Linked DNA regions of Homo sapiens: regions 1 and 2 are each linked to region 3. The links are contacts of gene promoters, found by promoter capture Hi-C in blood cells and fetal thymus (Javierre and others, 2016). All regions are on one chromosome and are shown on one strand. The core of a region is centred on a gene start or on the middle of the fragment in contact, and the rest is flanking DNA. Distances in the headings are between cores, read along the strand shown.

The links. The method cuts DNA at HindIII sites, captures the fragments that hold promoters and counts their contacts. A CHiCAGO score of 5 or more calls a contact.
Region 1: a contact is called between the fragment with the promoter of RPS19BP1 here and the fragment with the promoter of ADSL in region 3, in 4 of 17 cell types (megakaryocytes, non-activated CD4 T cells, naive CD4 T cells and 1 more). The highest score is 6.4, in megakaryocytes.
Region 2: a contact is called between a fragment that was not itself captured here and the fragment with the promoter of ADSL in region 3, in 1 of 17 cell types (erythroblasts). The highest score is 6.1, in erythroblasts.

Annotation. Positions count from the first base shown.
Region 1 is chr22:39,531,372-39,534,071 of GRCh38, forward strand. It overlaps RPS19BP1 (ribosomal protein S19 binding protein 1), which reads right to left and starts at 1,377. Exons shown (of 4, transcript NM_194326.4): 1 at 1,316-1,377; 2 at 1,024-1,152. The coding sequence starts at 1,367. RefSeq lists enhancers at 591-1,106, 1,107-1,622, 1,412-1,471, 1,522-1,571 and silencers at 832-961, 1,142-1,301. The HindIII fragment of the contact is 8,920 bases long and covers 1-2,325 here.
Region 2 is chr22:39,550,561-39,553,260 of GRCh38, forward strand. No RefSeq gene overlaps it. Among named protein-coding and RNA genes, the nearest start is that of CACNA1I, 19 kb to the right of the region's middle. The HindIII fragment of the contact is 2,704 bases long and covers 1-2,662 here.
Region 3 is chr22:40,345,211-40,347,910 of GRCh38, forward strand. It overlaps ADSL (adenylosuccinate lyase), which reads left to right and starts at 1,290. Exons shown (of 13, transcript NM_000026.4): 1 at 1,290-1,501. The coding sequence starts at 1,349. RefSeq lists enhancers at 805-1,318, 1,319-1,832, 1,833-2,345 and a silencer at 1,543-1,632. The HindIII fragment of the contact is 11,540 bases long and covers 1-2,700 here.

The DNA of each region.
Region 1 (2,700 bases), core at 127-2,626, 810 kb before region 3:
ATACTTTAACATCTTTTATGCATTAGACTCTAGGGATTCAGACACAGTAAGAGCTTGCCACGTCCTGACACATGTCAAAATATCACCATCTTGCCTACACCAGCCCCTCCGAAAGTCTTTATGTCTATTAAGTGACACTACGTCCCCCAAGAAACTAGGCTCCACCTTCACAGCCAATTCACCACTAAAACCCCTCTAAAGGCTGAAATTCTCTGCTGCCCCCTCTTTAACATATTTTCCACCTGCACAATTCTCTTGTTATCTCTGCTGCTATAGCCACTGCCCAGGCCACAGCATGTCCTATTTCAATGGAGTAGGTAATAGCAGCACTCTGGAGACACAATGCCCGGGCAGCCACAATGCCTGTACCACCTGGGCAGGTGCCTTTTTCTGAATCTGTAAAACGGGGGTGATAGTAGTATCGACCTCAAAGGGCTGCTGTAAGGATCAAACGAGCTTACATTTGTACAGCACTTAGAATCAGCACCTGGTACAGAGTGTTAGTGAATGTGTTTAAATGCTCCATCTTTGATCCTCATTCACTAGGTCACCTTTACCAGCCTTTATTTTTTCAAATTCTCAAAGGCAACAACCTCCTTTCTGACTCAGGACCTTTGCACATACTATTCTTCCTAGAATATTCTCCTACTTTTCACCTAGCTCACTCTTATACATCCTTCAGCTCTCGGCTGAAATGTCGCTTCCTCAGAGAAGGCTGACTTGGCCTAAGTCCCCATCAGAGTACCGTAGTCTTTTAATTCATAGGCTTCAATGCACTTAGCAATGACACACTGGGTTTGATATTCTTTGATGCTTCTCTCCCCACTAGGGCCGTAGTCCACGAGGACCAGGACGGTGGCGTGTTCTGTCACCTTCGTATGTCCAGGGCCCCGCTCCGCGCCTGGCACACAGTAGGTCTAGCAATACCGGGCGAACGCTTCAAGCCCTGCCTCAAGCGCCACCTCCTCTGGGGCGCAGGTCCCAGCACCGGAGGCAGCACTTTCAGCCCCTTCCCGAACTTACCCAGTGCCGACTTGGGCACCTTTCCCTTGGCCGAGTTCCGCAGTTTCTGGGCCTGAATTGCCTTCGTCTTCCGGGGCCGTTTCACCGGAGCCCCTCTCGGCTTGGCCTGACCTGGAGGGTCCCGGGGGGCTGTAGGGGAAGAGAGAGGAAGAGACCCAGGTCAGAGGGCGCGCAGCGTTCCCATGCCACTGGGGCTAAGCCCGGCCTGGATTGTTTTCCATCCAGGGCTCCCGCCCGCAGCCACTACCATCCTCCTGCCCGCGCCGGACGTCCCCTGGCCAGCCCTCCTCACCCTCGGACGCCGCCAGCAGCTCCAGGCCCCGCCGCAGCAGGGCGGCGGACATGGCGGCGCTTGGCTCCGCCCACGAGCCTCACACTACTTCCGACCTGGCAGTCCCTGTCGTCTCGGCGGAAACCCGAGCCCGAACAGAGGGATCCGGAGGGGGATGGGCGGAAGTGCCCATCTTTCTTAGGACGCATGCGTTAGGGGTTTACACTTGAGCGGAAGAAGGGGCGGAAACTGGAGGCGGGTCCAAGGCGCAGAAAGACACATGTGTTACTCAATCCCAATCTACCTGGCTCCTGGCGCTCAGTCCCCTCCTTCCCCGGAAGCCGTCCGCAACCTGCTCCGCCGGGTTGGCCAATCCTCTCGGGTCTCGTGGCTCCGTGGCGGGCTAGGATGGGGACAGGGCGGAGTGTTTTTCATATACTTCAACCAGCACTAGGTATCGCACAGGTTGAGTGCAGCATGAGAATCCAGTTGTCTTCCCTTAAGCCAGACATTAAAGACATATCTTTGTTTTGAAAACTACAATTATTTCTCATAAAATACGTTGTTTATGTTACCAAGCAATGGGTTTATTGTCATTTTAAGTGAATTAATGAATATGTAAAATTTTTGTTTTAGTTTCTAGTATGGCAAATATCAGTTGCCTACATACAAAAGTTCTTTGGGATCCTGAATTTTTTAAAATTTATTTTATTTAATTAAATTAATTTTTTTTTTGAGACGGAATCTCGCTCTGTCGCCCAGGCTGGAGTGCAGCGATCTCGGCTCACTGCAACTTCCGCCTCCCGGGTTCAAGCGATTCTTTTGCCTTAGCCTCCCGAGTAACTGAGATTACAGACGCCCGCCACCACGGCCGGCTAATTTTCTTTTTAAAAAATTTTTAGTAGAGACGGGGTTTTGCCATGTTGGCCAGGCTGGTCTTGAACTCCGGACCTCAAGTGATCCGCCCACCTCAGCCTCCCAAAGTGCTGGGATTACAGGAGTGAGGGGATTCTGAAGTTTTAAATGTAAGAAGCTTCTTAGACCAAAACATTTGAGCCCCTCTGGCCTAGAAGTGACACTGCTTACCTGGGGGAGGAGCCCTGGGCTTGTTCGCTGCTCCATCTGCAGCTGGCAGCCCAGCACCTGGCATGGAGAAGACACGCAATAAGTGAACGGTGAATCAGAAGGGACCACTGGGTTCACTCAGCCGGGTTCTGAGGGCCTTCTGTGTACTTGACACCACAGAGTGTGGGACCTGGAGTTCGTCCTCCGGGATAGACCACACCGTTTAAGCTCCATCGGCTAGAGAGTAATAATAACAACCAACACAAACTCAAGCATTTGTGCTGTTCTACGTGCTTTACATTTGTTAACTTGTTTATCCCCCCTACCCTTCCAGGTAGGAA
Region 2 (2,700 bases), core at 61-2,560, 790 kb before region 3:
CTTGAAAGACCACAGGGCAGGGCCCAGGCTTACAGTAATGACCTGGCCAACTACAGCGCCTCCAGCCTGAGACCCACTCCCACCACACAGGCCTCATGGTCTCTCCTTGATGGCGACATTGAGGGTGTTTGCCTGGAAGCCTGACTGCCCGGGTGCCGGGACTTTGTCCAGCTGAGGATAAAAGGGATAGTTGCCTGCTCTATTATTCTATCTCCAAGCAGCAGGAGTGGCAGAAAGGAAGAGTGTGAGGGCACACGTGCGTGAGAGATGTACATACACACACACAGCGGGGAGACGGGAGAGCAAGAGACAGACAGGAAGAGTTAGGGAGACAGAGAGACAGAGGGGCATGGAGAGAGCCAGAGAAAGGGTAAGACAGAGAAACGCCAAGGAGGAAGGGAGCCAGGCAAGGGAAACAGGAAGCAGGAGAGAGACGCCCAAAGAGACAGAGACAGAGGTGGACAGAAGCCAGCAGGGGCAGAGGGTCCCCACCCCCTGCACCTCAAGGTGATTTTTCCTCTTTTCATCGTCCACTCTCCTCTCTGGCTCCGTCGCTCCTAAGCTGGGCTTTCCGGTCCCTCTTCCACCTCTTCCCCAGTGTCATTTTCTTTTCTTTCTTTCTTTCTTTTTTTTTTTTTTTTGAGATAGTCTTGCTCTGTCGCCCAGGCTAGAGTGCAATGGCATGATCTCAGCTTACTGCAACCTAGGTTGCCGCCTCCTGGGTTCAAGAGATTCTCCTGCCTCAGCCTCCCGAGTAGCTGGGATTACAGGCGCCTGCCACCCTGCCTGACTAATTTTTGTATTTTTAGTAGAGGCGGGGTTTCACCAAGCTGGCCAGGCTGGTCTCGAACTCCTGACCTCAGATGATCCACCTGCCTCAGCCTCCCAAAGTGCTGGGATTACAGGGGTGAGCCACTGCGCCCAGACCCCCATGTCTTTTTTAACCTGATGCTCTCCGGGCCTTTGCTCCTGCTGTCCCTTGGCTTGAGATGCCCTTCCTCCAATACTTGGCTAGGAAAACTCAGATCTGCCCACTGCCTGTTGTCCCTTCTAGGCCTTCACTGTCTCTCCCTTTGTGGAGCCTTCTTTGGCCCTCCTGGTCTGACCCCAGAAAATATCGTTTCCTCCTGGGGGCTCCCAGCTCCTTTCTTCCGAGCTTAAATCCAGGTTGTCCAGATGTGGCTTCTCCCCACAGGGCTGGGGTTCATCTGTTTCTGTATACCTGACACGTGGCACTTAGTAGGTGGTCAATAAACATCACTGAGTGATGGCCTGGCGTGTAACTGTTGTCACACCAGCTCTCTTGAACTCAATTTCTTTCTTTTTTCCTTTTTTGACATGGAGTCTCGCTCTATTGCCCAGGCTGGAGTATAGTGGCGCGATCTTGGCTCACTGCAAACTCTGCCTCCTGGGCTCAAGCAATTCTCCTGCCTCAGCCTCCCGAGTAGCTAGGATTACAGGCGCATGCTGCCACGCCCGGCTAATTTCTGTATTGTTAGTAGAGACTGGATTCTCTGAGCCCTGTCCAGGAAGCTCCTCAGGCATCAGCTACCTGTTTTGGTTGAGAGTCAGGGACCTCCGACCTGGCAGGAACTTGAGGTTCCTGGGGTCTGTCCCCAGCTATGCTCTGCCCCCACTCCAGGCTTTTGTCCTGGGCAGATAGATAGGCTTTTGTCCTGGGCAGAGATAGATTCTCTCTCTCTCTCTCTCACACACACACACATGCGCACACACATGCACTCTGGCATAGAATCCTGTTTATGCTACTTATTAGCTGTGTGACTCTGGGCAATTTACTTAATTTCTCCGGATTCTGGTTCTCCCGAGTGTAAGTGGAGCTGCATGATCCCTGTCACCTAGGACTGCTGGGGGTTAAGTGGGCTGATAGAAGAAGTGGACACCTGCAGCCGGGCCCAGGGGCTCCCTGCTTCTCAGCTACATAAGCCAGCTCCACCCCCACACTTCCTGCCCAGATTCCTAGGGATGCAGCAATCTTGGGGGGCTGCCAGTGTTCTCCTGGACCCCTCTGGCTTTGACCTTTTGCTTCTGCTGGCTTAGTGCAGTTGGGGATGGACTGGGTGACATGCCCAGGGCTGTTCTTGTTCATGTCAGCACTGAGGGGGAGCTCGGCTCCTTTCTTGATATCCACACACTGAGTACCCCTGTGGGTCCAGCAGATGTTCCTGGGGACTTGGCAGGGGAGGGACACTGACACTGCAGCCATGCAAACCACTTCAAATCGAAGTCCCCCCGCTTCTGGGGGATCCCCCCAGGTGCGTCCCCCTCTGCGTGTCCCTGGTCTCCTCCATCTTGCAATCTCTTCTCTCCTCTCCCTTCCCTCTCCACTCTTTTCTCTCTGGACCTTCTGATTCTTCTCTCTTTATGTTGCAGAACAATCCAGCCACTACCTTCCAGACTGGGCTCTGGGTCCATCTTGGCCTCTTCAAACCCATCAAGGTGCCCACAGGTGCTGGGGTTCAGCCTGCCCCATCACATATGGGAAGCCCAGCGTCTGGCCCATCCTCCCTAGGGTCTCATTCCAAATCTCCTCCCTGTTTTACCCACAGTCAGCACTTCCAGAATTTTCCATCTCGTAATGTCCTCCAGCCATGGCACAGGCCTGGTACGCAGAGGTGATTAACAGATGCTTTTGGACTGTTGAAGCTTGCATTCTGCCATTGGTTTTCTCCTATCATGGTG
Region 3 (2,700 bases), core at 40-2,539:
GACAGGGTCTCACTGTTGCCTAAGCTGTAGTGGCAAAATCATGGCTTACTGCAGCCTCAACATCCTGGGCTCAAGTGATTCTCCCACCTCAGCCTCCCAAGTAGCTGGGACTACAGGTGCACACCACCATACCCAGTTAATTTTTGTATTTTTTGTAGAGACAGTGTTTCATCATGTTGCTCAGGCTGGTCTCCAACTCCTGGACTCAAGCGATCTGCCCAGCTCAGCCTCCAAAGTGCTGAGATTATAGGCGTGAGTCACCGTGCCCAGCTGAGACACCTGGCTCTTACAGCTCCAGATGAACCCTTTCCTGTGTGATCACCCCACTGGCACTCCAGACTGAACAACATAGCAAGACCCTGTCAAAAAAAAAAAAAAGGGGGGGGGCCACTTGAGTGTTTCTATTTCTATTTATTTATTTAATTCTTTTATTTTTTGGAGACGGAGTCTCGCTCTGTCGCCCAGGCTGGAGTGCAGTGGCGCGATCTTGGCTCACTGCAACCTCCGCCTTCCGGGTTCAAGAAATTCTCCTGTCTCAGCCTCACAAGTAGCTGAGACTACAGGTACAGGCCGCCATGCCCGACTAATTTTTTGTATTTTAGTAGAGACAGGGTTTCACGTGTTGCCCAGGCTGGTCTCAAACTCCTAAGCTCAGGAAATCTGCCTGCCTCGACCTCCCGAAGTGCTGGGATTACAGGCGTAGGCCACCGCAGCCGGCTCACTGGGGGCGCAGTAAATGCCGATTTCCCTTGGGTATCTTCATTTCTCCTTAGAGCCGAGCTCGGTGCGCCGCGGGCAGGAGTGGGTGGGGCGACAGTAATAAGAGTAACAGCAAGCGTACACACGGCCTTCCAAGTGTGCCAGACACCGCTCTAACACTGAATCCGCACAACCCGAAAGGCAGGCCTTTTTTTTTTTTTTTTTTTTTGCTTTTTGTTTTTTAGAGACGGGAGGGTCTCCCTGTGTTGCCCAGGCTGGTCTCGATCTGTCGGCCTCAAGCGATCCTCCGGTCTGGGGCCCCCACAGTGCTGGGATTACAAGCGTGAGCCACCGCGCCCGGCCAAGGAAGTCTTAATGTACCTCTTTTCAGACAGGAAAACTAAAGTGTAGCGCGGCTAAGTAACGTAGGAAGCATCAATCATGTTTCTGGTCAAAGAAGCGAACCAAGTCAATTCTCAGGCAGAAGCAGCGGAGATTCTCCGCAGCCGGCAGCGCCCAGGGCGCCCGGAACCCAGAGAGCGAGACCGCGTGAAGGAAGTCCCGCCCCGCCCCGTCCTGCCCTGGCCTCCAGGTTTCCGCTTCCGCTCTTCCCTGGTCCAGTCCACCCTGGCGGGGTCGCAGGGTTGGGATGGCGGCTGGAGGCGATCATGGTTCGCCCGACAGCTACCGCTCACCTCTTGCCTCCCGCTATGCCAGCCCGGAGATGTGCTTCGTGTTTAGCGACAGGTATAAATTCCGGACATGGCGGCAGCTGTGGCTGTGGCTGGCGGAGGCCGAGCAGGTAACGGATCCCGGGCTGAGGGGCTGGGCCGGGAGGGACGGGCCCGCCCCAGCACGTGCCGGGCTCTGTTCCGGGCTGGGCTTAGCCACCCCGGAGCTGCGGCCCGGCTATTTTCAGCTGGGTGTTCCCTGTCCTGAGGAGCTGCGGCCCCAGGAAAGCAAGGGCAGGAGATCCGGGAGCCGCCACCTGTTGCCTCACGTGTTCTCAGTCCGAGAGGGTTCGAGACGCGGAGGAGGCTGGGAGAAATTCAGCCTGTAGTTTCAGGGAATTCATTTTGGCCATCCCCGCAGGAGTACGCTGCTAACCACAGACACCGAGCGCTTGTTTCGTACTGTTGTGCTCATTATTTCACTAATCTTTTCTTGTGTAATCCATGAAGATCTTGCAGGCTTGATGGTGTTTTTCCCACATTGCAGGGGAGAACAAAGCCCGGACAGCTTGTTGTTTGCCCTAGCCCATCCAGCTATTAAGAACGGAACTGGGATTTGAACCTGGGTGCACTCCAGAGCCTGAGCTGAGCACGTAGCCCCTTGGTTTTCCACAGTGCCTGTGTAGTTAGTGACAGGACTGGAATGCTTGTTTTCTAGGCCACCGTTTCTGCCTCACTGGCCTCCGCTTTGCCTCTTAGGAGAAGACTCCGGGTAGGGGTTTATTAAACGGGGTTTATAATTTCTTTTCTAAGGGCTGCATAGAGAACTTCTTAGCCCAGCGGTTTCAGAAATAGCTCCAGAAGAGTTGAAGCAAACTGAAGGTGATCCAGAGAGCGATAATGTTTCTCCTCAAGTTTCAGAGGAAAGTGCCACAACGAGCAAGTTGGCAATGCCCTCTCAAACGGCACAGTAAACATGGAAACAATTTGACTTCGGGCCTAGGACCTGTACCATGGAACTCTCCAAACAGGAAACTTTCATTCTAGATTCCCTCCCTCCCCTTATCACTGCCCTCCAAAATATTGGGCGATACACTACAATAATAGCAGACATTCAGATAGTGCCTTCTGAGACCCAGGTCTTAACCCTTTACACATGGTTGCTTATTAATCCTCCAAACAACCCTGAAGAGTAGGTATGAAATACTATGACTGTACCTGTTTTACAGATGGAAGAATGAAGCATCAACTTAATAAACTCTTGGCGTAGATAGCGATAGTAGTAGACCTTAATCATGTGTTGTGGTTTGTGATGTACTAGTGTGTACTC